2 separate regions of the Homo sapiens genome follow, and region 2 is linked to region 1. The links are contacts of gene promoters, found by promoter capture Hi-C in blood cells and fetal thymus (Javierre and others, 2016). All regions are on one chromosome and are shown on one strand. The core of a region is centred on a gene start or on the middle of the fragment in contact, and the rest is flanking DNA. Distances in the headings are between cores, read along the strand shown. Region 1 holds the start of ADAM28 (ADAM metallopeptidase domain 28). Region 2 has its middle 49 kb from the start of ADAM28.

Region 1 (3,785 bases), core at 916-3,415:
AAAGGCAAGGAAGAACTGGTAGTTTGAAATAAAATAATTTCAAAAAGTGCTGTACCCCCTGAGTATTCTGCTGTAATAAGGTAAGCACCTTTCTCCTTTGTTGATGCAATCATTTACATCTTCACCCCGCAAACACCTGTCACATCCTTTTAAATATTTGTTTTTCCTTTTCCTAGGATGAAATCCCATAAGTCAATTTTTTCTCGGGATTGTGAAGTTCACTGCACACAACCAGCCTTATTTTACATCTCTTTCTTTTATTTCAACCATCTGGGGACTGGGCAGAAGTCATGGTCAGAGGGGCACATATGTATTGCTTTGATGATGGGGGCAGAGAACAAACAGGAAGAACTGGGAAATGAAAATTGCTTTACTTCTTATATTCTGACTAGAAAGGCAACCCAAATGGGAATCATAACAGGGATAGTTCAGTGGCAAAAAGACACCCTTAAAAATAGAAGCTAGAAGTTAAAGGAGGGGTGACATCACACTTTTAGAGTTGACATCAGAGGAAGTTGCATCTCTTGGTGCCATGTTATACATGCACCGTCGGGGCAGCAGAACTGATTAGTGTGCCCAGTTGCACAAAAGGACTGTAATGTGCATGGGCCCCAGTGTTAGCCATGTGACTCTGTTAATGGATCCAGCTTGATCTTTACGCTCTTCAACTAAGCTAGTGCCCAAGCAGTTCTTGTATTTCAGCTTAGAGGGGGTTCTGGAAAAGCTCTTGGTGATAGCATTTTTGGAGAACGGAGAGAAAAAAACATTTCTATTAAGTCTGCCTCAAAAAGTAGGAATTTCAGGTCAATGTTAAATGCCTGGCATGAGTTTTATATATATTTTTAATATTTCAGGCTTATTTTACCAAAAGAAAGCTGGTGTAACACGTTCACATCAGACAAAATAGGTATCAAAGCAAAAGGCATTAGAGATGAAGAGGATCACAGCACAGTGGGAAAAGGTTCAGTTCAGATATAGGTACATATTATATAAAGCAAAAATACACAGAAACAAAAGGAAAATAATTCGATATTTAAAGATATTAGGTTAAGTGAAATTTTTATAAGTCTTGAAAACAAATCAGAAACAGGTGAGACACAGGAAAATCATTTTTAGCAACAAAGTACTAAGAGGGTGCATGGACAAGGAAAACTTTTCCCTCCCTAAGCCCATACCTCTAGTTGATAATCTGTTCCCATCCCCAGGTCCCAGCAAACATTCTAAGACCCAAGAACAGGTTTACTGGGAGGAATTCGAGGCACTGCAGTTCATGTGCTGAGTTAAATAAGCTCTGGAAATAGAAGCTGAAGAATCACAATACCCAATCTAATTTAACCAAAGTCTAATTAGAGAATTTACCAGAAATTGAGAGACTTGCTAGACATAATTTCCTGTTAGGAAGTAGTATTTTTCTCCTTTCAAATTTTTAAATGTTTGGTATAATCAGCAAAATAGAAGTAAATTATCAATTTAAGCTTAACAGAGATATTTTGTTAAGTAATATCACAGTACCTTATAAATAAAAAATATTAATTATTTCCAGTTAGTCACACGTATTATTACTAATAATGAGTAAATACAAAAATATACACTCAAACAGAAAGAGCCAAACTGGCTCCCATAATAATAGTAGGTATTTTCCTAAGCCTTGTACACAGTAATAAATAAATAAATCTGCCACATCTTTACCATTCTTTAAATGACAAGCTGGGTTTTGATGAATTCCACTTTTTCAGTCAAAAATCATATTCATGATTTAAATTGTGCTGTATGAAATTGTCCCTTTTATTTCTGTATATTCTCAGATGAGATGCATACATATTGGTTCAAGACCTCTTGTTGCCTCTTTTTAACATTGTCTTTGTATCACTCGCAGCCCCCAAACAACAGGTTAAAACCAGCCCAACTGGTTAGTAAGATTGATTGAGAAAAAAGAAAAAGAAAAAAGTCAAAATAGTTTATACAATAAAACTATTAGGAGACTATGAAAAGTTCGCTAATGCATTCAATAGAACCTGAAAAAGAGCTAAATATGTACCTGCAACAGAGAGGAGGAGACTGACTGGCAGGAGACCTTGCAACATGCTGGGTGATTCCAGGAGCACGGTGTCTGCTCTTCTCGCTCAGGTGGGTGCTGCTGGGTCTGTCCCTGCCTCCTCTCCAGTGAGACAGAATGAAACTCCCTGGTTCATTCTTGTCTCTGATTCAGGAAGTGTTTACTAAAGGTGTTGCGCAACCTCGAAGCTGTGGTCCTGCAACAATGGCCCAGCAGGCGGAAGTCCTGGCTGCCTCCTGGCTCTAAGATTACTTGATCTGAACTATTGTTTTGCTCTCCTTTGCCATACTCCCCACTCCAAAGTAGTACATTTCCAACATATTACTATAGCCAGATAAGCTACAAGGAAAGAGGCAACTGCATTAATGAGTCTTGAAAAACATGCTAGACATTTATTTACATTACGGATATGATATATAAATATATGTTTAAATATATTTTTATATATATACAGTTGTAGGAAAAAAGTTATTAAGAATGTTATTTTTCCCCCACATACATAATGTGGTTATGTAAAGCAATTTCTAATTCAACCTAATTACTATATAGCATTCTCTTTTCCATTATTTTATGTTCTATTCCTCACACAAGTGTACTCTCAGGAAGTTTGAACTATCCTGAAATAAGAATGTCTGACAATATAAGCACAATAATTTTTAGATCCTTGGGGGTATTTGTGTCATAACTGGCAATGAGGAGTGTGGAAGAAGGATTCAAGACCCAAAGGATACAATTTTAGGATCTGTCACTGGTGGTAGTAAGGCTAAACTGGGCATGTCTAAAAATCATACTTATAACCAATAAAATAACTAATATCAACTGAGCTGCTTATTAAGTTTTAGGTACTGATAGGGTTTGGTTGTGTCCCTACCTGAATCTCATCTTGAATTGTAGCTCCCATAATCCCCATGTGTTGTGGGAGGGACCCAGTGGGAGATAATTGAATCAAGGGGCGGGCTTTTCCCATGCTGTTCTCATTATAGTGAATAAGTCTCATAAGATCTAATGATTTTATAAAGGGCAGTTCCCCTGCTCAGGCTCTCTTTGCCTGCCTCCATGTAAGATGTGTCTTTGCTCCTCCTTCACCTTCTACCATGAGAGTGAGGCCTCCCCAGCCATGTGAAACTGTGAGGCCATGAAACCTCTTTTTAATTTACCCAGTCTCAGATATTTCTTCGTGATAGTATGAAAATGGACTAATACAGGTACTCTCCTAAATCTACTGTACTTGTTATTTTATTAGTCTTTATGATACTCATGTATTATGCATTTACAATCATTTTGCAGGTGAAAATTTGGGGTTTTAAAGGCAAAATTCAAAAGATTAAGAATCAGTTGTCCCCTCATTGTATAGATTAAGAAGATTAAGCAGATAAAGTCACCTATCCAGTAAGTGGTAGAAGTGGAATCTGAACTATGTGTTGTCTGGGCTCTTAGTCATATACTCTAATGCTTTCCCTTGGCTTAGCTGACTTGTACTCCCAGTATCATTTCTATTGAAAAGATTCTGGGAGAATAGAAATAATTATGAAATTCCTAAGGAATAGAAATTACGCTGAGGACCAGTTATTACCACAAAACCTAGTCCTAGTCCACTAAAATCATGCATCATTTTACAGATTCTGAAACACATTCTCATACTAGAGGGATTACAGTGATTATTGATGTCTCCAAATGATTATACAGTCATCAACTAAAACCACAAAGGAATTTTTGAGTCTAGTTACTG
Region 2 (4,001 bases), core at 245-2,744, 48 kb after region 1:
TAAGGATAGTTTGGTGGGGGGCCAGGGAGTGGAGGAGTGCTGATGGGTTGGGTCAGAGATGAAATCATACGGGGTCAAATGGGTTTTTCTTGCTGCCTTCTATTCCTGCGTGGGATTGCACAACTGGTTGAGCCAGATTACTGATCTGGTTGGCGCCAGCTGTTGCATCAGAACTAAGGGTCTAAAAAACATCTCAAGCATCAATCTTAGGATTTACCATTGTGATGCTATCCCTAGGAGCAACTGGGAACGTTTGGAATACTGTGGCCTCTAGCTTCATAACTCCTAAATCATAATTTCTAATCTTGTGGCTAATATGTTAGTTTTACAAGGCAGTCTGGTCCCCAGGCTAGAAGGGGGCTTGTTTCCGGAAAGGGCTGTTATTATCTTTGTTTCAAAGTTAAGCTGTAAACTAAGTTCCTCCCAAAGTTAGTTTAGCCTGTGCCTAGGAATGAACAAGTGCAGCTTGGAGGTTAGAAGCAAAATGGAGTCAGGGGGCCAAATCCCTTTCACTGCCATAATTTTCTCACTGTTATAATTTTTGCAAAGGTGGTTTCAGGTATGCCATGCATGTCAGGTGAAAATAAATTCTTTAAATCTCTAAACTCTGAAATGTTATTGACAAGGGGTTATCCCTGCCAAGACAGCTGGAGCCATTCTACTCAAAAAGTAGGAGGATTGTATTTAAGGTTCTTGCTTTCAGATTAAATGCTGTGCAAAGCCTTAGGGCTTAACTCATTCTTACCTCTGATTAAAATTTGTTTTCAATAGAGCACTCATTACATTTGTATTGAGGTAAGAAGAATGAGGCAAAGAAGAAATAACAGTAAATTGAAGTCAAACTATTTAAATTTCTACACTTTTTAATTCTCATGTAGTTACTTAACCTCTCTGTCACCTCAATTGTCTGTAAAATCAACAGAATAATGTCTGTTTCACCTAAGATCACAGTAAAGATTGCAGTAAATAGTAAATGTGTAAAAATGGTTGAAAACTGGGATAAAATGCAAATAGGCAGATGTGAAAGAGGTCTTGAAATGATAATAAGAGAAGCACATGAAAATGACTTTCAAATTTATGTTTCTTTGGATAGTGACTGGTTTCTAAGCTTCATCTGGACCATGGCATGTCCTTAAAACCAATTAATTCCTTGAAATCTAATTCCCAATATGATGGAATTTAGAGGTGGGGCTTTTGAGAGGTAATAGATCATGAGGGTAGAGCTTCCATGAATGGGATTAGTGCCCTTATAAGAAGAGGCCAGAAAGCTAGTTCACTTCTTTTCTGCTATATGCAGACACAAAGAGATGTCAGCTGTTTACAACCTGGAAGAGAGCTGTCACCAAAACCCAGCCATGCTGGCACCATAATCTTGGACTTCCAGCCTCCAGAACCATGAAAAATAAGTTTCTTTTGTTGGTAAGCCATCTAGTTTATGATATTTGGTTGTAGCAGCCCAACCTGACTGAAACATCATTCTTCATCGTCCATTAACAGGTACAATATTTTATAGGGCCACTGGTATTAAATCATTCATTCAATAGTGTGAGGCATACAGCTAGCCACCAGGAATACAGAGAGGTAAAATATCCTTACCAGGAAAGTATGTGGGAATTCTTTGCGCTGTCTTTGCACCTACTCTGTGAATTCATCTAAAATTTAAAAAATTAAATCTCCATTAGTTCTATACTCTGTGTTATGACTGGTTAAAACAATTATCTTCCATAGACCATTATAACTCAATTTGGAGAATGATGAGAATGTGTAAGTAAAAAATGTTGAAAGGTCAAAATAAATATCCTCACAGGGGCTCATGATGTAACTACAGAAACAGCTATAGAAACAGCTTATGATGTAGCTACAGAAAGAGGACAAGCTTACTGGAGTTGAAATAGAAACACTCCTAAGATCAATGGGCAGCACTTTTAAAGTACCACTGTTTATTCAGTAACATTTTTTACTAAAAATATTTGAAATCCCCAAATGACAAGCTACCCATTCTGTTGAGGAGGTAAAGACAGATGCTATGGCCTTGGGTCCTTAGCATCAGCTGGGAAATGCTCTTTGTGATGGGAAGTGACTCAGGTCCATCACAGCAACCGGGAGGCTGACAGGCTGGCTGTGATTGTGCAGAAGAGCCAACTTTTTGCAAGCGAACGTCAGATCTTCAGGCTCCTTCTCTACGTATTGCTGCCACCTAGTGATCAAATATTTTTGTGAAACACCAAAATAAGAGAAATGTAAGCACTCTCAGATTGCTTTTTTAGTTTAATGTTTATGTGAGCAATCTAAAGTGCTCAATAGGAATGCAAAAATTCATAAAGTTGAGTAACAATTTCATATTCATCATATATCTGGGTTCTTTGGAAGATGTATAAACTCTATTCCTTAAAAAAGTTTACAATCTACTGATTGACAAAATTGAAAGTAGTACAATATAGTATGAGTGGGACAAGATCCTTATACTTCTGCTCCTACTTTGGTGGTTTTGATATCAATACATGTATTAGTCCATTTTCATGCTGCTGATCAAGACATAACTGAGACTTGGCAATTTACAAAAGAAAGTGGTTTAAGGGAGTACTCACAATTCCACATGGCTGATGAAGCCTCACAATCATGGCAGAAGGCAAGAAGGAGCAAGTCACATCTTACACGGATGGCGACAGGCAAAGAGAGAGCTTTTGTAGGGAAACTCTCATTTTTAAAACCATCAGATCTCATAAGACTTATTCACTAGCAGGAGAACAGCACAGGAAAGTCCCGCCCCCCAAGATTCAATTACCTCCCACCAGGTCACTCCCACAACACATGGGATTTCAAGATGAGATTTTGGTGGGGATACAGCCAAACCATATCAGTATGTATAGGAATAACTACCATTTGCAGGATGTCTTCATTATGGCCAGCACTGAGCTTTGTGCTTTAAATAAATAATATTTATAATCCTCAAATCATGCATTTAAGAAAGTCTTTGTTACTGTATGTTTACCTATGACAATATCGAGTCACTGAAGTTCTGGAACTTGCTCAATGTAACACAACTGATGAGTTATATAGGCAGGATATTAACTCAAGTAGCTGACTTCAAATTTAGTATATTTTGAATAAGACTGCATTGACAAAATGAGAATGTTTTCAAACAATGCAGCATTTGCAAATCCATGTGAATGTTTTTTACTTCGAAGTATCCACCATAGGAGGTTATCTCCCTTTTAAATTATTCTAAAGATATTCCACCACTGCCCTAGATCATGTCTTGGAATTATTTTGGAATTAATTTTAGAACCACTCCAGAAGGAAAACCTGTATTACTAAATTTAGTAATCCCTATTTGATTTCACATTTTTTTTAAAAGTCCTAAGCTTCACACATTTTATTTTTATGACAAAGTCTGAGTGAGAATGAGTCAGACCCTGAAATTAATGCCAAAATATTACTGGCAATCAGTAATATTCTCAATGAGTTTCCCACAAACTGTTTCAGCTGCTTCTAACAGGTATAGCAAAACATCTTCAAAAAGATTCTATCAATAAGCTAGAAACTACCAAGAACACCAGAAAACAAAGACTTCCTATCTTTTGGAAATAAAAATGACTCTGTCTTAAATAGTCTGTGAGTTGGTGATGAAATAAAGCAAAAATTTCACAGTATCCCCAAATAGTGATCTAGTCACCCTTGTATATGGACTACAGTTAAAGTACAGCTCAGAGAAAAATTTATAGCCTTACTAAAAATAAATAAATGAATTAAACTTACAAATCCAAAAGTATGAAAAAACAAAATCAACTGAAGGAAAATGAAAGGAGAAACTGTTAAAGGCAGAAATATACCAGAAAAGAGAAAAGAAAATTAATAAAAATGAAAAATAATTCTGTAACAAAATAATCATCTAAATCTTATCAAGAAAAAAGGCAAGCTGCACAAATAAAGGTTGAAAAGACGGAAAATAACCACAAAAATTGAGAAAAAGATATGTAGAATACAACTTTGCACTGTAT

Evidence for each region. The method cuts DNA at HindIII sites, captures the fragments that hold promoters and counts their contacts. A CHiCAGO score of 5 or more calls a contact.
Region 2: a fragment that was not itself captured here is called in contact with the fragment with the promoter of ADAM28 in region 1 in 2 of 17 cell types (total B cells and naive B cells); the score reaches 10.9 in total B cells.

Annotation. Positions count from the first base shown.
Region 1 is chr8:24,292,449-24,296,233 of GRCh38, reverse strand. It overlaps ADAM28 (ADAM metallopeptidase domain 28), which reads right to left and starts at 2,165. Exons shown (of 23, transcript NM_014265.6): 1 at 2,039-2,165. The coding sequence starts at 2,084. ADAM7-AS1 (ADAM7, ADAMDEC1 and ADAM28 antisense RNA 1) reads left to right here. Exons shown (of 6, transcript NR_125808.1): 5 at 1-80; 6 at 177-420. The HindIII fragment of the contact is 10,253 bases long and covers 1,478-3,785 here.
Region 2 is chr8:24,243,344-24,247,344 of GRCh38, reverse strand. No RefSeq gene overlaps it. Among named protein-coding and RNA genes, the nearest start is that of ADAM28, 49 kb to the left of the region's middle. The HindIII fragment of the contact is 768 bases long and covers 1,111-1,878 here.